Linked DNA regions of Homo sapiens: regions 2, 3 and 4 are each linked to region 1. The links are contacts of gene promoters, found by promoter capture Hi-C in human tissues and cell types (Jung and others, 2019). All regions are on one chromosome and are shown on one strand. The core of a region is centred on a gene start or on the middle of the fragment in contact, and the rest is flanking DNA. Distances in the headings are between cores, read along the strand shown.

Region 1 (2,545 bases), core at 27-2,526:
CAGGGTCAAGATGAGTGTGGAATCCATTTATTTTTTTACGTGTTTATAAGCACTAGAAAGCAGTGAGCACTAAGCAGAGGACCCCTCTTGCGGAAAAAGTGCAGGAGAGCTCCTGGGTGCCTCTGTATCACCGGTTTGCCTTCTAGCCAGAATCATTGCTAGAACCCTGTCACTCAGTTACTTTGGTTCCTAATTTAACCTCTTCCCAAGCCTTCTATTGCGTTCAGTTAGCTAGGCCAGGAGCTTACAGCTGTCTGGTTGGTGCTGGCTCAATGTGCTTATTCCCTGGAAGATAGAAGGATCACTTACAAAAAAATTTACAATTAAAATAAAAAAATTATTTTTTGCTGAAGCATTGTAAGGTTTTTTTAATTCACTCAGACCCAAAATCGTAAAACTAAAATATTTCAAGACATTACTTGATTCACCCCCCACTTCTCTTTCTCCCCTGTTTCTCAGCACTTTGCACCAGATACAGAAACCACGGGTTATGTCCAAACCCTGGTTTTGGTGTGACCACCGCCTTCCGTGTACTGCCTGCGGCTCGCTTCGGGCCCACACGGGACACCGAGGCATGATGAGGACGCAGAACAGCAGAAGCGCGCCCTGCTTCCCGGGCGCCAGTGCTCGGGGCCAGCGGCGTGTACCCGGCGGGCCCGGCCGGGAGCGGGCTGGCGATCGCGGGGCTCGGCGCTCCCGGCTCCCGCGCCATCTCCCGGCGCCCGCCAACTTCGCTCCGCCCGCGGCGTAGAGAAGCTCGCAGCCCTCCGGAGCCTCAGCGATCTCCTGGCTCGCTTTTCCCGCAGCCGCCGAGCAGCGCAGGCCCGGCGACTCCGGGTGCAGCTGGCCCTGTGCGGTGACATCGCCGTCCGGCGCCAGGCTCGAAGCCGCCTGGCCGCGCCCGCGGGGTCGCAGGCCGCTGGTCCCGCCCGGCCGCGCTCACAAACTACTCGCGGCTCGTGACCCGGGACAAACTTCTGGCGGCGGCGCAGCCTCTTCCACAGTCACCCTCCCCAGAGCCAGCTACCAAAATAGAAGACGCGGCCGGGGCGAGGAGGTGGGCGGGGGGAGCCCGGTGGCCGCTCCTCCCCGCGCGGCTGACGCCCGCTTCGGCGGCGGTAGTGGCTGTGGCCGCGGGGCCGCCCCCAGCCGAGCTCCCGGAGGCGCTCGGGCGCGGGCCGGCGGGGCACGGGCGCTCACGCCCTCTAGCGGGCCGCGGCGGCGCCGGGCGGCCGTGACGTGAGCGCTCCCTTCAGCCGGCCTGCGGGGCACCGCCAGTCAGTCGGGGAGCAAGAGCCCCGCGCGCAGCCGGCGCGGGCTCGGTCATCGGCGCGCCGCCGCCCGGGGCTGGGCTTGGGGCTGCCTGTGGAGAGGCGGCGGGCGGAACGCGCGCGGCCACGGCCACGGCCACCGCCACGGCCACGGCCGGCAGCTCGGGTCCCGGGTCCCGGGCAGGGGAAGGGGAGAGGCGGCGAGCTCAGCAACCGGAACCGAGGGAAGATTTTGGCTCCGCGGGCTCGCCCTCCGCTCCCTCTGCCAGCGGCGCCAGACGCCGAGTGGGGCCAGGGACAGGGGAGGAGGACCCAGGACCCTGTGCCCGCGCCCCTGGAGCCGCTGGAGTTCGGACTTCTGCAACTGTTGGCACTTTGGGGGCTTGGCTTAGCGCTCTGCTGTTTACCCGTCTCTCCTCGCTGCCTCGGAACCAAAGCTCCCGGCCCCCTCCGCCCTCGCGCGCCCACCCACCGCCGCCGGGGAGCGGCCCGGCCCGCACTCAGCACCATGAGGGGACTTGGGACTTGCCTGGCGACTTTGGCCGGACTTTTGCTAACTGCGGCGGGCGAGACGTTCTCAGGTAAGCGGGACCGCCTCTGCCGCCCCCGAGGCGCGCGGGCCGGCGCGGGACGCCCGGGACGCCGACAGCTCCCTGGTGGTAGAGCCCTAAGGCTGGCGTCGGGGCCGGGCGGGGGGCGCGGCGGGCCGGACACCGCTTCTGCCTGTGAGCCGGGCGCTGGGCGAGGGGCCGTGGGGCTGGCAGGCACCCAGTCCTCGGGCGGGCGGAGCGGACGGACCCCGAGGGCGAGCTCCCCAGCCGGGACTGCCAGCTCGGCCGCCGTCCTTCCGCGGCCTGGGCTAGTGCTCAAGGTTGGGCGGCTTGCACTCTTGAGTCCCTGGCCGGCTGCAAAAGGAACAGCAGAAAACTTTGCTTGAAGTTCCCAGTTGCAGCCGCCGGGCCGCCTGGCGTAGGCGCTGCGCGGTCCCCGCCGACCCCGAGCAGCGGCCGGGCCCAGGCCGCTGGTGTTCGGCTGCGCCCGCAGCGATCGCCGGGAACTGGCGGCCGCTCCGGCGGCGGCGATCTCCCGGTGCCCTGCCCTCCCTGTCGCCCCCTGCCCGGCGCGGCTGGCGACCCCGGGAGGTCCCCGCGGTCGTGCAGCGTCTGCGGAGAGGCTGGGGGGAGTTCCTCGCCGGTCCCAGCGGTAGGGCTTGGCGGCCGCGGAGGGAAGCGGGCAGGTCCCCAGGCCCTGGCCACGGCCCTGCGCCCCGCTGG
Region 2 (2,545 bases), core at 19-2,518, 580 kb after region 1:
CACTTCGTCAACTCATTCTCCAATCAATTTTGTTCCCTTGCTGGCGAGGAATTATGATCCTTTGGAGGAGAAGAGACATTCTGGTTTTGGAATTTTCAGGCTTTTTGCGCTGGTTTCTCCCCATCTTTATGGATTTATCTACCTTTGGTCTTTGATGTTGGTGACCTTCAGATGGGGTCTTTGAGTGGATGTGCTATTCCTTTCTGTTTGTTAGTTTTCCTTCTAACAGTCTGGCCCCTCTGCTGCAGGTCTGCTGTAGTTTTCTGGAGGTCCGCTCCAGACCTTGTTTGCCTGGGTATCACCAGCGGAGACAGCAGACCAGCAAAGATTGCTGCCTGTTCCTTCCTCTGGAAGCTTCATACCAGAGGGGCAACCACGAGATGCCGCTCAGAGCTCTCCTGTATGAGGTGTCTGTCGGCCCCTACTGGGAGGTGTCTCCTAGTCAGGATACACGGGGGTCAGGGACCCACTTGAGGAGGCACTCTGTCCCTTATCAGAGCTTCAACACTGTGCTGGTAGATCTGCTGTTCTCTTCAGAGCTGCCAGGTAGGGACATTTAAGTCTGCTGAAGCTGCGCCCACAGCTGCCCTTTCCCCCAGGTGCTTCGTCCCAGGGAGGTGGGGATTTTATCTACAAGTCTCTGACTGGGGCTGCTGCCTTTTTTTCAGAGATGCCCTGCTCAGGAAGGAGAAATCTGGCAGTCTGACCACAGTGGCCTTGCTGAGCTGCAGTGGACTCCACCCAGTTCGAACTTCTTGGTGGCTTTGTTTATACTATGAGGGGAAAACCGCCTACTCAAGCCTCAGCAATGGCAGGCACCCCACCGCCCCCCCCCGCCCCCCACCAAGCTGGGGCATCTCAGGTCAATCTCAGACTACTGCTGTGCTGGCTGCAAGAATTTCAAGCCAATGGATCTAAGTTTGCTGGGCTCCATGAGGGTGGGACCCACTGAGGCAGACCACTTGGTTCCCTGGTTTCAGCACCCCTTTCCAGAGGAGTGAATGATTCTGTCTCACTTGCGTTCCAGGAGCCACTGGGGTATGGAAAAAAAAAAAAAAAAAAAACTCCTGGAGCTAGTTCGGTGTCTGCCCAAACAGCCATCTTGTTTTGTGCTTGAAACCCGGGGCCCTGGTGGGGTTAGGCGCCAGAGGGGATCCCCTGGTCTGTGGGTTGTGAAGACCATGGGAAAAGCGCAGTATCTGAGCTGGAGTGCAGGGTTCCTCAGGCTCAGTCCCTCACGGCTTCCCTTGGGTAGGGAAAGAAATTCCCCGACCCCTTGCACTTCCCGGGTGAGATGACACCCCACCCTGCTTCGGCTCGCCCTCCATGGGCTGCACCCACTGTCCAACCAGTCCCAATTTGATGAACCATATACCTCAGTTGGAAATGCAGAAATCACCCACCTTCTGTGTTGATCTCGCTGGGAGCTGCAGACCGGAGCTGTTCCTATTCAGCCATCTTGCCAGCAATCCCAGCTTTGCACATTTTAAGTTCAATACTCCTTTAAAATTAAGTGGAGATGTTCACTGGGAGGTTGAATATGCTACTGTGGACTAGAAATAATAATTTCCATAGTCTGAAAGTCATCAACATTTCTGGAGCTGAAGCCATAGGTTTGGAAGAGGCTCCTCAGAGTTTTTGTAGAGTGAGAAGAAGGAATATCAAGGATGAAGGTAAAACCGTTGGCAACAGCAATATTTCAGGGCGAGTTAATATTCCAGTATAGATACATGCATCTACTCCTTTTCTGAGTCTCCCTCCATTTATGGTTCTGTTCTAGTCAAGCCCCAGGACAAACCGTTGCTCTGTCACAGCTGTGCGCATCCCTGGTCTTTGGTCCCCACCATTACAACTGTTTTTCCCCACTTGTCATGTGCCGTTTATCTCTTTTTCTACCCATCGTGTGATTCCTATCTTTATTTTTCATTCATTATTTATTTTCATTCCATTCCTCTCTACCCCTCTTTTCTTTACCCTTCTTTACCTATTTCTCTCTTTATTTCCTTTTTCCTCCATATTTCCCATATTTCCTTTTTTCTTTCTCTTTTTCTTATGCCTCACCTCTTTTTTTTTTTTTTTTTTTTTTTTGAGATAGGGTCTCGTTCTGTTACCAGGCTGAAGTGCAATGGCACGATCTGAGCTCACTGCAACCTCCGCCTCCTGGGTTCAAGCAGTTCTTCTGCCTCAGCCTCCCAAGTAGCTGGGAATATAGGCTCACACCACCAAGCCCAGCTAATTTTTGTATTTTTAGTAGAGACAGGGTTTCACCATGTTAGCCAGGATGGTCTTGATCTCCTGACCTCGTGATCCCCCTGCCTCAGCCTCCCAAAGTGCTAGGATTACAGGCATGAGCCACTGCGCCTGGCCTTTCCTGGATGTTCTTCGTCCATTCCCCACCTCAATGTGTATGTAGATAGCTTATTTTTGGCACCAGTAGTTTGTACTTTTTAAAAACATATGACCCAGTGTAAGTCCTAAGGAACAATAGGCCCTTCCATGCCTGGACATCCAAACTAAACATTTTGAAGAGGTTTATTTTTAATTC
Region 3 (2,545 bases), core at 24-2,523, 560 kb after region 1:
AATTTATTCCTAGGTATTGTATAGCTTTCATTTATTATTGTGAGTAAATTTTGATTGAGGGGAGGAATATTTTGAAATTGGTTTATTTTGTCTTCTTTTGACTGATTTTATGTTACTTTATGCAAGATTACAAAATATCTCTTTTTAATATGTATATATATATAAATTTAATAAGCTTTTCCATTGCAAATAAAACAAACCAATGGTTTTTCAACCCACTTACAAAAGCATAATTTCGATCACCCATTTCTTTTGGCAAGAGCCATAAAAAGGTTGAATGTTAATTGATTTTCTAAGAGAATGACCCAGCCACTCCCACCAACATTATCTGTTTTCCTCCTACTCTGCTGACTGTCTGTCCATTTCTCTACTTCCCACCAGTCAGATCCCATTTCACATCCTAAGTCCTCTTTATCTTCAGTAAACCGTGGCAGAGCTAAGATGTAGGTAGATAATGTCTGTCCTTCTGGGGACCCAAGGTTCTCTATTTGTAAGATGAAGATATAACTGATTGGATCTTAGCCACACTGAGTAGCAAGGAGGACAGTATATGGCTTGAAGATGGTGGGATTGTTTACTGAACATTAGCTTAGTTAGTAGCAGTAACAGCAGGTACAAAGGTCCGGTGGTGTGATGAAGCATGGTCAGATATGAAGAATTGCAGAAAGGTCATCATGGCTGGAGAGCAGAGAGCGAAAAGGATGTGTGGGGTGAGCAGTAAGGTGATACAGGCAGAGCAAGGCCAACTGTGACCGTGTACCTTACATTAAGGACTTTGGTCTTGATCCCAGGAGGAGTGGGAAACAATTGGAGTGTTTTAGGAGAGACAGAAAGGATCAGTTTTGCACTGTGTACTCCAAGCCACACTAGAAACATTGGAGAAGAGATGAAAAAGGCCAAAAGACCAAAAGTAAAACTATAAGAAATGGAAGACTGTCCAACACACTGGAAAAAAAAGAACAGAGTAAGTAGATGTGAATAGAAGAGGTAAAAGCCAGGAATTAATACAGTAAGTACTGGTCATGGGGAATGGATCAGCTGCAGCCAGCATGGAGGAGCACATGCTAGGGAACTTAAGGGACAGGGTCAGCCATATCAAAGGAATGCTTAGAATCCCTTCCAGGGGCCATATTTTATATATCTTTAAACTTTCCTCAGCCTGCCACTCAGTGCTTGGCACATGAACGGCACTCAGAGTCCAGCTGTATTGTTTTTTTTTTTTTTTTTGATGGGATGAAGTTATTTGTAAAAGATAAAATTCCCTTGAAGGGTGAACTAATTTTCACACTGCTTTTTAAAAAAAATAACATCCTTGCCACAGTGGCACTTCCACCTGTGACTGCAGTCAGGGTGAATGTGGTTTCAGGAGGGGCAACTGGACCAAGAGCTACACAGACCCCCTCCAGTTAGCCTTCCTTCAGACGGTGCATACAGTTTAGCTCTGACAGAAACCAAAGTTGCAGCTTTCTGTCCCTGAAATATGTAGCTTTAGGGAGCTGTCCTGTGAGCACTATCCTCTACTACTAGAGAAGCTATCATTCATTCATTCATTCATTCACTCATTCATTGTTTCCATCGATGCGCTTTCACCCCCTAGGAGAGCTGGCCCTACCATGAGCTCTACATAAGAGAGGAGGAACATTCATGGAAGTGTAGGGTATGCTCTTTGCTCTGCAGGAACTTATATTTAGTGCCTTTGTTAAGACCAACATAAACAGTTCAATAAATGCTCCACTTCCATAAGCTTACCAACACCTTGAACTATTTGTAATAGTGGTAAGTGGGTAATGAACTAAGTTAACATATACTCAGTTGCACTCGAAAACGTACTATCTCTATGATACCAGAGTCATTTTCAGTGTCAGAAGCTTCAATTTAACCTTTTGAGAGAATTTTGGATAAAAATTAAGGGAAGAAAATGCCTCCTTTAGATTTCTTTGTAAATAAAAGATGGCTAAACTCTTCATTTAAGCAGATAACCAACTGATTGAAAGTAGTGGCTAACTTAAAACTACCATTTTCCAACTAACTAGGTATCTTACTTTTTGTCAAATGTAGTATTCTGTAAATATAAGATGATTAACAATTCACACACACTGTTGTGGGCATTTCATATTAAATGGCAGAGGGGGATATCAGTGCTATGTGTTTCAGCTACGGAAGTTAATATAGAGGGTTGGTGTGAGGAGAATTTGAGATTTTTGAGATTTTCAGCATCTCTTTCAAGGGCTGCTTGAGGATTCTGAAATTTCCTTTCTGGCTAGAAAGAATGTAAAATGAGGGTAAAATTTTATTCTTTCTGCAATACCAGCTGACTGCATTTTAATGGGCTATAGTGTCACTGTTGATTTATTGCCCTTTTTGTTCTTTTATGTGTTATATTTGTCATTTTGCTGTGGCAGTTTCATCTATAAAACAGTATAGTTACAAGAAAATGGTGAGAGGATACAGGCATGCCATGAGGGATGCTGTTGCTTTTTTCTTGTCATTTTTTGGAATGGAATACTGAGTCAAATGTCAAGTATTTGATTTCAGAAACAATATA
Region 4 (2,545 bases), core at 27-2,526, 530 kb after region 1:
AATCTATATAATAACTCAGAAAAAAAAATGGATGTGTTTCCCTATTGATCCCTGAATCATTATGTGATTGTGGTTATTATCAGCTTAACTGAATAAACTTAGCCATAAAACAAGCAAAACGGTCTTCTGTTTATAACCACTCTAAAAGGAAATAAACACTTGGCAACATAGTAAATTTCACAATGTGCCATGGGTATGAAGAACCAGTGAGATGTATTACTTACGTAACTTAACAAAGCCTAATGTTCTAGTCACCCTTTAAGTATATGAATCTCTTTCCACTTTATTAAAAAAAGATATTTGTGATTTACATGCCATTTTATAATAATTCAGTCCTTATAATTATGTTAGAATTCACTCCCCAGATTCCAGAATTTGTTCTTTTAATCAGAATAGGTTTGTTCAAGAGTTTGATCCTGGCTTAGAGGAGCCAGCTAAATTCTATTATTTATTCAAAAAAGTTTATCCCTTTATAGTATTTTCCTGCTGGAATGACAATATTATTTTGAGAAACAAAAAACTTATAGTGTAAAACCTTGCAATGCAAAGTTTACCTTAAGATATAAATATTCTGGCCAGGTGCAGTGGCCCATGACTGTAATCCTAACACTTCGGGAGGCCAAGGTGGGAGGATTGTTTGAGCTCAGGAAGTCAAGGCAGCAGTGAGCTGTGATTATGCACTCCAACTTGGGCAGCTGAGCCAGACCCTGTCTCAAAAAAAAAAAAGATATAAATGTTTTGTAATATAAATTTTAAAGTGGCTTTATTTTAACTTAGCCTATTATAAATCAATATAGGGGCTAGACACGGTGGTTCAAACCTGTAATCCCAGCACTTTGGGAGGCCAAGGTTGGAGGATTGCTTGAGCCTGGGAGTGCAAGACCAGCCTGGGCAACAAATTGAGACCCTATCTCAATTATAATTAAATTTTAAAAATTTAAAACAAAATATAAATAAAATAAATCAATATATGGTTTCCAGATCTAAATAATGCTTACTCTAAATTAATTAGAAACTACTGAATCCATTAATAATTAATACAACTATTGCCCCTAAGATACAAGATCATATCAAGTGTCGCACATAGCCTTTTAGACAGAATTTTTCATTCTTCCTTTGGCAAATGTTAAGGAGGAAACTTCTAATATTCAAATAATCACTCACTTTATATATCACATAAATTATGGGCCTAATTTTTAAAACGAGTGCATGACATAGAGAAGGACACATTTTGAAATTAGATAAGCATAGTTTCAAATCCAGGCTCTCTCCACTTGTAGTTACGCCACTGTTAAAAATTCCATCTTAAGGTCTCTGAGCCTGGGCTTGCCTGTCTTTCCACAGCAAGGATAATACCCCTTATATCTTACAGCTGTGCTAGGATTGGATTTGTTAAATACTCATGAGGTTCAAGCACAAGGTGGTGCTAAGCATTGGGGATATGGAGGAGGCTGCTAAGGGCTCTCTTCTCCAGGGGCTGGCAATGTAGATTGGAAAGAGAGCAACATGGAATCTAGTGTCCTGTAGTAAGTAGGGATGAGGATGGGAACCAGTGGCCTGACCAGGGAGTGGTCAGTACAGGGAAGAGTCAGCTAAGACTTCAGAGAGGAGGTAACCCTGGGGCCAAGTAGCTGAATCTTGACAGACGGCTGTTGTTCAGAGCATCTGTGTGATGTGGAGTATGTTGCCAGGGAGGTTAGATATGTGGCAAGGAATAAAAAAATGAGAGAGACAGGTTGGCTCCATGAAGACAGGGAGGACTGAGTTTGGCCTGATCTGAGAATGAGAAGTGTGTTATAATCAGAGAGAGGGGTGGGATGGGAGAAGAAGCAAGGGAGATAGAGGATGAATTGGACAACCTTGTACTCCATACCAATAAGTAGCCATTCAAGGGATTCAGGTCAGGGAAAAAATGTAAGGAAGAGCTGCAGCAGCAATGGAGGATGGGTTAGAGGGCGTGCGGCCTCAGAACAAACTAATAGGAGCGGCATAAAGGCTGGAGGATGTGCTGGGCCCAGTTAAGATAGAGCTAACCCTGGCGGCATGGAGGAAGGGGGTTTCATAAATGCCAGATGCTGATTTTCATTAGAAATAGGATTTAGAGAAATCAAAAACACTTAGTCCTTTTTAGAAGGAAAAAAAGAGAATATATTGATGTTAAAAATACTGTCTGGGGTATTGTTAAAGTGAATACTAGAACGCTTGAAATTGAAAAACTAGCCTAGCAATGACTTTCCAATAATTCATTGGAAATCACTAATTATATAAATATTTTTAAACCCCAATTTTCATAAGCAGTAAAAAGTTGTTCTTAGTGTCTCTTGTTTGGAAGAACCTTCTGGATCTTTCTTTTGTTGCTTCTCCTACCTTCCTTATATTGCACCTTAACCCCTTTGCTGTGGGCCTGTGTCCATCAATTTTGTGACAATGACTGTACGTGTTGAGGTGTTACCATGATGCCTACTCAGTGGATGTGGGTGGCACCTCTGGTTACTAAAAGCTAGAGTGTGAAATGCTTCTCTCGGCTTCAGAAGGCATGCCAGCA

What was found. The method cuts DNA at HindIII sites, captures the fragments that hold promoters and counts their contacts. A contact is called where the count stands out against the background at its distance.
Region 2: a fragment that was not itself captured here is called in contact with the fragment with the promoter of PTPRM in region 1 in 1 of the 25 tissues and cell types used here (dorsolateral prefrontal cortex).
Region 3: a fragment that was not itself captured here is called in contact with the fragment with the promoter of PTPRM in region 1 in 2 of the 25 tissues and cell types used here (dorsolateral prefrontal cortex and mesenchymal stem cells).
Region 4: a fragment that was not itself captured here is called in contact with the fragment with the promoter of PTPRM in region 1 in 1 of the 25 tissues and cell types used here (IMR-90 fibroblasts).

What each region holds. Positions count from the first base shown.
Region 1 is chr18:7,566,040-7,568,584 of GRCh38, forward strand. PTPRM (protein tyrosine phosphatase receptor type M) reads left to right here and starts at 1,277. Exons shown (of 33, transcript NM_001105244.2): 1 at 1,277-1,852. The coding sequence starts at 1,780. RefSeq lists a silencer at 958-1,327. The HindIII fragment of the contact is 7,623 bases long and covers 1-2,545 here.
Region 2 is chr18:8,150,649-8,153,193 of GRCh38, forward strand. All of the region lies in intron 14 of PTPRM (protein tyrosine phosphatase receptor type M), which reads left to right. Among named protein-coding and RNA genes, the nearest start is that of RAB12, 460 kb to the right of the region's middle. The HindIII fragment of the contact is 5,911 bases long and covers 1-2,545 here.
Region 3 is chr18:8,126,209-8,128,753 of GRCh38, forward strand. All of the region lies in intron 13 of PTPRM (protein tyrosine phosphatase receptor type M), which reads left to right. Among named protein-coding and RNA genes, the nearest start is that of RAB12, 480 kb to the right of the region's middle. The HindIII fragment of the contact is 3,659 bases long and covers 1-2,545 here.
Region 4 is chr18:8,093,653-8,096,197 of GRCh38, forward strand. The region is part of intron 11 of PTPRM (protein tyrosine phosphatase receptor type M); the gene reads left to right. Among named protein-coding and RNA genes, the nearest start is that of RAB12, 510 kb to the right of the region's middle. The HindIII fragment of the contact is 7,507 bases long and covers 1-2,545 here.